Linked DNA regions of Homo sapiens: region 2 is linked to region 1. The links are contacts of gene promoters, found by promoter capture Hi-C in human tissues and cell types (Jung and others, 2019). All regions are on one chromosome and are shown on one strand. The core of a region is centred on a gene start or on the middle of the fragment in contact, and the rest is flanking DNA. Distances in the headings are between cores, read along the strand shown.

Evidence for each region. Contacts are between HindIII fragments. The study calls those that stand out against the background at their distance.
Region 2: a contact is called between a fragment that was not itself captured here and the fragment with the promoter of SLC44A5 in region 1, in 1 of the 25 tissues and cell types used here (hippocampus).

The regions. Positions count from the first base shown.
Region 1 is chr1:75,607,853-75,612,887 of GRCh38, forward strand. SLC44A5 (solute carrier family 44 member 5) reads right to left here and starts at 3,262. Exons shown (of 24, transcript NM_001130058.2): 1 at 3,188-3,262. The HindIII fragment of the contact is 17,791 bases long and covers 1-5,035 here.
Region 2 is chr1:75,420,197-75,425,661 of GRCh38, forward strand. All of the region lies in intron 2 of SLC44A5 (solute carrier family 44 member 5), which reads right to left. Among named protein-coding and RNA genes, the nearest start is that of SLC44A5, 190 kb to the right of the region's middle. The HindIII fragment of the contact is 3,343 bases long and covers 1-3,208 here.

The DNA of each region.
Region 1 (5,035 bases), core at 2,012-4,511:
TTATAAGTTACCCAATCTTGGGTATGTCTTCATTAGCAGCATGAAAACAAACTAATACAATATCCATCACTATCTATGCTGTATATTATGTCCCCAGAACTTGTCTTATAACTGTAAGTTTGTACTGTTTGACTAGTATCTCCTCACTTCTCCCACTCCCCCAGCCTTTGGCAACCACCATTCTACTCACTGCTTCTATGAGTTCAATAATTTTGGATTCCACATATAAGTGAGATCATACAGTATTTTTCTTTTTGTGCCTGGTTGATTTCACTTAGTATAAAGTCCTCCAGGTTTATCCATGTTGTTGTAAGTCAATAGCAAAAACAAAACAAAACAAAACAAAAAACAAAAAAAAACAAATAACCCAACTTAAAAATAGGCAAAGGAACTGAAAATATATTTTTCCAGAGAAAAAGATATGGAATCAACCTACGTGTCTATCCACAGATGAATGGATAAACAAAATGTGAGGGGTATGTGTGTGTGTGTGTGTGTGTTGTGTGTGTACACAATGGAGTATTATTCAGCCACCAGAAGAAGAAAATTTTTAAAGAGTTATTGCAAAAGATTCCTTACTAGTCTTCTAGTTTCTCATTACCCCTACATATTGGCTCGATATTCTCAACACAGTCGCCGTAGCAATTATTTTAAAATGTAAGTCAGATCATATTTTTCCTCTGTTCAAAATCTGAACTGGTGCCACATTTCCCCAGAGTAAAAACCAAAGTCTTAAAACTTTCTAAAAAGTTTAATATAATTTAGTCTTCCCTCATCTTTCTGACTTCATTTTCTATTTCTATCCCCCTTACTAATTCCACTTGGTCTTCTTTCTGTTAGTCAAACATACCAGGTATATTTTCACTGTAGGGTCTTTGCTCTGGCTTTTCCTTCCTTCTGGAAGTCTCCTCCCCTTCCACTGCTTCATGTCCTTCAATATTACCTCGTCAATTGGTCCTACCCTAACCACCCTATTAATACTTGCAGCTGGCCCACCATCATCCCATGATTAGCAATCCAAATCCCCCTTACTATGCTCATTTTTTTTTCTTTCTGTCATGGCACTTTTCAATTTTTAATATCAACAATGTATTCATGCTTATTATTCATTGTTTGTCTTCCCTATGTATAGTGTAAACCTCATGAAGAATTCATTTTGTTCCCTGATTTATCCCAAGCATGCTTAGAATAGTGCCCAGTACATAGTAAGCGATTGATTAACACTTATTGAATGAATAGAGAACTACATGAACGAATAAAATAGATTAATATCCTACTCTCAAGTAGAAGAGACGGCAACCTTCCTTTCTTAAATCCTCTTTCTCAGTCTCCTATTTATACCTCAAAGGACTAACTGGGCTGGGAGGAGGAAGGGATTCTTTGGTAAGGAGGAATAGATAAATACAGCTGGAAAGGTTTTTATTTGAATATTTTAGGGTTTCATTTCTTTGGGTTTTTTCTTTTTTAATTGGCAAGTAAAAATTTATATATTTATGGTGTGAAACCTGATGTTTTGATATATATACACATTGTGGAATGGCTAAATCAAGCTATTTAACATATTCATTACCTTACATTCTTATTTTTGATGGTGAGAATAAAAGATTGTAGATTTTAAGAAACTTTCTATCTTCTTAGTTTGGAGGACTGTGAAATCTTGTGCTGTTGGGAGATTTTAGGGCTTTTGTATTCTCTTTATCACTCTGATTTTTGGTTCGGTAGTGCTTCAATTTGGAAAGTATCTTCTAAACTAAATGAACTAGAGGAGCCAGGAATCAGTACTCAAAAAAGCAGAGGAGAAAGCAAGCTGCTACAAGAAACTCAAGGGAAACAAGAAAAGAGAACTTCAGGGTTTCAGCCCAATTCACTAAATAGGAAAGAGGGCTAAGATTCAAGATCAGTGTTGGAACTAGTAACAAATATTACATTTCATGATAGAGGTGCAAAAATAATGAACCACAGGTATATTCATGATCTAATGTTATGTAACCTATTACCCCCAAATTTTAGTGGTTTAAGACAAGAGTAAGCATTTATTATATCTTATGGTTTCTGTGATTCAGGAATCCAGAAGCAGCTTGATTGGATAGCTCTGGGTCGGGGCTATCATGAAATTCAGTCAGATGTTGGCTGAAGCTACAGTCATCTGAAGGCTTGACTTGGTTGCAGGGTCTGTTCCCAAGATAGATCACTCACATAACTAGCAAGTTGTTGCTATTAGCAGGAGGCCTCAGTTCTTCCCACACAGAGCTAAGATTCAAGACTTCTATGCAAGTCAAGAAATACACACACACACACACACACACACACACACACACACACATAGTGAAGTCTGAATATAAATTAGGAACTGAGCTCTTCTTCTCTCTCCATAGGTATATACATATACATACATATACCTATATACACATAGATATCCTGGAGAATTATTTAGAGAGAGCAATATTTCTACATCAGCTCCCTAGGCCAAGTAAGGTGACCCAATGGACTTCACTTTTCTAAAAAGTGCAGTTATACTTATGTATCTTCTCTTACTATTCATCAAAATACCGACAATATTTTGGGCTGAAATGTTAATAATATCTGTATGAACCTCTGCTTCAAAAAATAATCCAAGGGATCCTTGAGTATTTTTAAAACATGGCATCTGGTTTCCCCAAAATGAGCAACATAAGAAAGCAAAGAATACAAAAGAACAAGGCAGAAGCCATAGTGTATGTCTTTATGATGTAGTTTTCTGCTGTACAGTACTGATCACATGGTCAGCTGTGATTCATTTTGGAAGGGGAGTATGAACAGGTGTGAATACCAGTAGGTAAGGATTCCTAGAGATGTTATCAACATCTCAGCCCGAAATATTGTCGATATTTTGGTGAATATTAAGAGAAGATACATAAGTGTAACTGGACTTTTTAGAAAAGTGAAGTCCATTGGGTCACCTTACTTGGCCTAGGGAGCTGATGTAAAAATACTACTCTCTTTAAATAATCCCCCAGGATATCTATATATATACACACACACACACGGAGAGGAAGTGCTCAGTTCCTAATTTATATTCAGACTTCACTATATATATGTGTGTGTGTGTGTGTATTTCTTGAGTTGTATAGAATACGTACTTATGAATAACAAACTTGACCAATTTTCCTACAGACATAGACTTCTTGCATTTAGCAGTATCACTCACCTCTTACTCCATCATTTCTTCAATAACTCCATCAACACTGAACCTTCTAACTCTAACATGCTACGATTCACTACTGTGAAAAAAAAGCTGATGTCATAAACACATTGTGTTCCAGTATCACTAAGGGCCATACCCCATTCTTAGGTAATCCCTGAGGTCCTACTAGCCTTGCTAGCCTCAAAGGAGTCACTTGGAGTATAAAGAGGGGGAGGAGACTGAACAAAGTCCTGGAGCTATAGTATATTTTTTCATTGTTAATCCTTGGCAAAGAAGTAGGTAGTTTGGAGGTGGAAGTAGGCCATGATTACCTTTAAAATAATCTACTATTATTTGTGTCTTTCCTGAATATCATAGCACCTTCTTGTCACAAATGCTTAGGGGAAAGAAAATCATCCAATATACCCCATATCCCACTTACCAACATCTCTACAGTAAAATGAGACCCAAGAGCATGATTTCCTTAACTAGCTATCAAGCAACTACCTCCAACAAACAGCAGTTATCATTAATATGTTCATGCTATTTTCATTTGTGAGGTCTGTAATCCATCAGAACAACCTGACAGTGATTAAGTAAAATCAAAGAGACTTTGTAAACATCTGTGTGCTTTTATTGTTACAAATGCTTCATTATAAAAAGATCAGTCAAAAGCATAAAAGTACCCTGGTTTAAACTTTTTCTGTGTTTGAATGAGAATGTTTCTCTTGGAACATGCTCATATCAGGCTTCCACTTGGCAAAATCACGAATTGGCTGATGTTGTTTTAGAGGCTTTCTCATGTCCCCTTCCAAACATCACTCTTCTCCTTCTGTGGACCCCTTTCTGTTATCTAGGAGCCCCTCATGCTGCCTTCCACATTCTGCCTACTGCACAGTCATGTTCTGGACCCCTCAGAATCCCCCTCTACCATTACAATATGTTTTTCCTAAGACTTACTTGCATTGAAAGGCTTGCCAGGGAAGTGACTAATCTTATCATCTTGTACTAAATGTTAAATTAATCCTCATTCTCTCTAGAATTGTTTTCTAAGCAGGGATTCCTAGAGATGCTATCAATATCTCAGCCTGAAATTGCATAGGTATTCTGGTGAATAGCAAGAGAAAATAACGTGAGTATAACTGGACCTTTTAGAAAAGTGAAGTCTATTAGGTCACCTTAGTTGGCCTAGGGAGTTGATGTAGGAATGCTCCTCTCCCTGAAATAATCTTCCAGGAGAGGAATGTATCCCCAAATAGCAAGTGAATATCCAATGGCTTCTCATTGCACTTAAACTCTATATTCCTTTTTATGACCAAAAAGGCCTGGCTTCTCCCTAACTGTCTCTTCCTTACACATTACACCTCTTCCTTTTGTATGTGAATGTGCCAAGCTACCACCTCATTTCTACCTTAAGGCCTGAAGTGTTATGTTCCAGTTCTTGGCATGCAAATTACTCTTCATCACTTGTTTCCCGACACAAATGCCACCTTTCCAGACAATCTAAAGTAACCTCAAAATCATTTGCTCGCACATCACTTTGTTTTATTTCTCCTGGTATTAATCACTATGTGAAATTTTCTGGTTCATATTATTTGTCACCTGCTTCTTCCAGGCCTCCTCTTACTTCATTGTCTATCATGTTCATTACCGTATCCCTAGTGTTTTGCACAGAATCTGGTACATATTCAGTGCTCAATAAATATGTGCTAAATGAATAAATGAATAAATTAACCTAAACATAAGTTTTACACTTAAGTAATTGAGCAAGAAGTCTTTGTTGTACTAATATTGGAAAAGGCAGGGGTGGGGGTGGTGACGTGATTATAACCAATGTAACCAGCTTGCATTTATAAGACTTGTATTGATTAT
Region 2 (5,465 bases), core at 287-2,786, 190 kb before region 1:
CTTCTCAGCCTCCAGAACTGTGAGAACTAAATTTCTGTTGTTTATAAGCTACCCAGTCTATGGTAGTTTGTTAACAGCAGCCCAAGTGGACTAAGACAATTGGTAAAAAATAAAACAAAGTATAGCTATTAAATTATTGGTGTAGATAAAGTACAATAATAAAAAATGCTCATTCAAAAAGAAGGAAAGAAAAGAGGAACAAAGGAACGCAGAACAGATAGGACAAATTAATGAATGAACAGCAAGATGCTGGGTTTGAAACCCAACTCCACTGATAATTAGATTAAAAGTAAATTGTCTAAATACTAATTAAAAGGCAGAGCTTGTAAATTTACATAAATTTTGAAAAAGCAAGAAACAACTATCTGCTGTTCATAGAAACACAAATTCTGGGACTGACTATTCAATATAAATTCCTCAATTTCTTAGGTTTTGAGTGCTTTGAGTAGAGCCTATATGTTTTCAGATTATTGTGGAATGTAAAGTTTTCTTCACTCAATAAGAGAAATACTTTTTTGTTGATACATTGACCACATTATTTTCTTAATAATTACGATAACTCAATAATTGTAGAGACTGGTTTATAAAAAAAATTTTCATATCAAAGGCCAAAATTACTTTACTTTCATCTATTACTCTCTGTCAAGTGAAAACGTTTATGTCCCACAGTTAAGAGTATCTCTCAAAATACCAAGGCCTTAGAAGTTTCTTTCCTGATACTTCCATACTTGATAATGGCTATAGAATAAATAGCCATTAGAACACAGATGTCACAAAAATGAAAATAGCAAGCATTTAGACACCTAGGAAATAATCTCTTTGGAATATAATATAACTACTGTTTCAGAGGGGGAAATAGTTGTGTCTTTCTCACAGGATTGTTTTCAAATATATTATAATATGGTCCACTTCAAATTTTGCCCTTTCAAAGCACAACAATTATTTACCATAAAATAGCTTGAAAAATGGGAACAATTTTATACATACTGTTAGTATGTATAAAAATATACCTAAAATCATGTTATATTATTTTAATTAACATAGATAGAATGTGACATCTACAGCCAATCTAGGACTAGGAACCCTGCAGGTGCTAAAAAGCCACCATTATTTTAAAGACACCCTATTTCGCCTGAAGACTGCAAACTTGAGGAGGAATAAAAGGAGTTGTTGCTTTTTCTATACAGAGAAAGATACTGACTAGTTAGAGATTTTTATGTAGGCCATAAGCCATATGTGCAAAAAAATGAATAAATGGCAGCCCAGTTAATCCTCTTATTTTATTTTTTCTTTCAACATGAAGGGATTGTCAATGACCCACTGCACTGTGGTGTGCTATGGCTCATTTTGCTGAATGCATAGAGACACTGTTTCAGAATTGTCCTCAATGGTGCCCTAATAGTCTGAGAAATTTGCTAAGGCTTTCCTCTTCTTTCATTAAGATCACCATTTTGCATACAGCTCTCAAAGAGCTAATTGCTGGCTGTTCGTTTTATATATGTCACTAGCTCATTGCTGCACTGCTAAGGGGAAAAACACATAATAGAGGAAGGAGAAACATGTAGGTGGAAAAAAGCTTTTGTTATATAATACAAACTTACAATTCATAAAAGCTTATGGAATAAGGTGAAAATTTTATTCACCAGAAATCTTTAGAAGAAATCTGTTACTTTTTTGAAAAAAAAAAAAAGTACTTTGGTGAAGTGTTTGAAGTGTGGTCCATATATCAAGAATTGTCCTGGGACTGCTATTCATGTGACAAGGAGAGGAATTTGAGGAGTGGGCTGTGATTGTATAAAATGGTCATACTTGTGACCCCTCTCAGATATTCAATAAAATTACTGAACTCAAGAAATACTTGTTAAAACCACTGGTGTGTGTGTGTGTGCACGTGTGCTTAAGAGGCTGTGCTTTTTCACCCAGACTGATGTGATGTAAAATTTGGACATGAAATGCCCTTTGAAAAAGGCACACATGGAAAAGCAAACGCCCTTTCTGGAGTGAATACTAATGAGCATTGAAGCCTCCAGGTTAGAGTCATCTAATAGTTCTTCTAAGAGATATGATTTCTATCAGGCTAGTTATGGACACATCTGGACATTTCACTAGGCTGCAAGATCATAGGAGGCCGGAAGAGACTCTTATTCATAGCCTTATCCAGTTTCCCAGAGTGCATAGCACAGTGTTTTGGACTTACAAGTCCGCAGTGAATAATTGGCAACAAATAAATGAAAACATAATTGCCTTATGATGAGCTAGTTTTGTTTCACCTCAAAATATTTGTGTAGATAAAAACTTAGAAAGTAAACTTTAGTTTATTTAGTTTAGGTAAATAATCGGTATCCTGCACCAACTGATACCATACACAACAGTAGCGATTACAGATGTTTTGACTGAGGGACATATTTATATTACCAATAGAAATGGGAATGTCAAAAATAGGGATTTGGAATGTGCAGCAAGTTTTACATGTTAAGAAGCTCCTAGAATACTTGGCAGTTGCAAAAAACCTTGATTGCATGAAGGAACCCTTATCTGTTCCGTTTGCTGTCAAGAAAACTGGCCCAGAGGGGTTATGTGAATCTTTCCAGGAGGACCAATGGTTAAATGGCCAAACTGGAACTTGGGCCTAGATTTTGACTCTAGGTCTATTGCACTTTCCACTACCCATAGCTGCTTTCTATTAGGTTGGTGCTAATAGTAGAGACTCAGACTTAACAGAAGCCAGACCTCTTCTCTTCCTGTTGTCTTTATGTGCTAATTTGAAACAAACAAACAAAAAATAAAATAGTAAAGTCTTCCATTTTCTCTGCTCTCAAAATTCCCAAGGCTTAAGCTAGTTCCATTTATTGACATTAAATCCTGATTCATCTCTCAAATGCCTTTGTTGCAAGGATTGGAAGAAAAGCATTCTCTGGGGTAGGCAGTGTTATTTTGGTTGCCTGAAAAAGAACAGAAAGCTATAGTACTCTCTACGGAATGAATACCTATAGCAATTTCTCACACATATGGCAATTTCATACATACACCGTGAAACAACGCTTAGCAACCTGCTTAGTAAGGTCAAGCTTCCTCAGCAAACAATGAAATATAAACATATCATACTGCAGTTTCCTATGGCTGGTGAAATTAGATTAGATGGTTGTCTGCTCGTTATATGAATCTTCTATCAACTCAGCTGTAGCCAACAGAAATATTGATCTAACACAGAACAAGAAAGCTGATATCTTTAAACTATTGCTTGGCCCTTGGTTATTTCCCCTAAAGTATATATTTTTATCAATGTATTTTTATTTTGACCTTAAATTCCTAACTAGAGTCTATGATTTAAGGATTTTAAGAAATGAAGCTTTCGCATCATATTTTGCTATTTTACTATCGTTCTATTAAAGATTGGAGAAGCAGAAAAGTTAAATGTTTGCTACGTTAATATGTGCCTGGCTCTATTTGCCTTGCGTCTTTTGGAAATTGCGAGCAGCTCCATACTCCCTGCTCCCAGGACGCACTTATCTGTTTACTAGCTGTCAAAGTAAATTTATAGTACTGAGTGACACCATTAGATGGCCTGGGACAGGCCTTGCTGAGCACACACAGATACACTTGCATACCCATTAAGTTGAAATTTTGCCAAGAACCTATTAACCCATCCTAATCAACTGCTGTTTTCCATTTAAAACACCATTAGTTTCCTATGGTTTGTTGCTCAGGGTATAAGCAGAAAAGACACCATCAAGTGGTTAGAAAGGGTGTTGCTTTGCTGGATGCCCCTATGCCTCCGGAGAATTTGAATTTGGCATTAGTATGTATCACTTTCTTTCCACCGCTGGAATTAATCATGCATTCCAAATATTTAGGACTACCTCACAGAACACAGGATTTTAATACAGTTCATTGCTTAAAGATTGTGGATAATTAATTTGTGCTCAGCCTGCAGAGGCTTTTGTTTCTAAAGAGGACTGTATAATATAATTGTAACCATATAGAACCGATGACTCTCAGTCTAAAGCTATACGTTAATAGATTAACAAAGATCTGCCTACACACCCCACCCCCTTGAGCTTCCTCTCCAAGTTTTTAAAGTTTTCTCTAAGGTAGTTTTGTTTGTTTGTTTGTTTGTTTTGTTTTTTGAGATGGAGTCTCGCTCTGTCACCCAGGCTGGAGTGCAGTGGCATGATCTCAGCTCACTGCAACCTCCACTTCCCAGGTTCAAGCAATTCTCCAGCCTCAGCTTCCCAAGTAGTTGGGACTACAGGCACGTGCCACTGCGCCTGGCTAATTTTTCTATTTTTAGTAGAGCCAGGTTTCACCACGTTGACCAGGCTGGTCTTGAACTCCTGACCTCAAGTGATCTGCCCGCCTCGGCCTCTCTAAAGTAGTTTTAAATACCTGATACATTATCATAACTTCTAATAATAAAGTCCCTTGTAAGAGCAAGAGTTCTAATAATAGTGAAATGACAAGTCAGCCAAAAAATGATGTCTGATTTTGTGAGGTTTGCTTTGGGATTGGACACCTAAGAAGATGAAAGATGAAATATCAAAATGTCAAGAGTTTTTTTTTCAAACAATGCATTCTCTGCAATCAAATTGCAAGGAACAGGATTTACGTTACAGTATCTCAATATAATTTCTTCTTATAAAGAACATGAAAAGTGAAGAATTTAGTGAGCCAACTGTATTCCCCAACTCATCAAATAACAAAAACATATACAAACAATTCATTTGAAAAGTTCAAGCAATTCAGAAAAAATACTAAATACATTTCCCAACAATAGGAACACTTTGGTGGTAGGAAGCATTTAAAATAATAGCACTGCTCCATTAGGTTCATTTAAAAAATAAATATTTCACCTTCTTTTTCCAGGTTGTTAAAATGTTATCTTCATTTATTGTAGCTCTTTAAGCACAAGTTGTTCAAAAGTTAACACTAAACAGGAAATTTAATGTACTAACCAGGTAGAAGGTGAAACAAGAGGTACAGCAAAAGGAGCCAAGTATTGTGCAAGTGCAGCCCCAGTGTGGGGAATAACAAAGCCATGGTCTTTGCATATTCCTACAGGTACTCAGCACTATGTTAGGCACATGTTAGGAACTTAATTAAGCATTGGGTGGTTGATTAACTGAGTGATAAAAGATTTATGAATAGTAAAGAGCTTTGTAAAATGGAACAATTAAAATCAGAGAGAAAGGCCAAAACTAATTGTGTGAAAGTGGCAGATGGTCGATAAAGCTGTGAAGTCCCGAAGTCTGTAAACTTGCAGAAGCATTGCATTTTAGAGGAACACTGTCAGCAATCAAGGGACCACAGCCTAGTGGAAAAGAAAGAGGCTGCACAGACGATTATCTTCTTGAGAACCCAAAGGCTGTCAAATAGACAGGCCAACTTAATTAAGAAACTTATTTTAGATGTACCAAGTGTGTCCTAGTCAATCTACTAGAGAGTAAAGACCATGGGTAGTGGCAGCC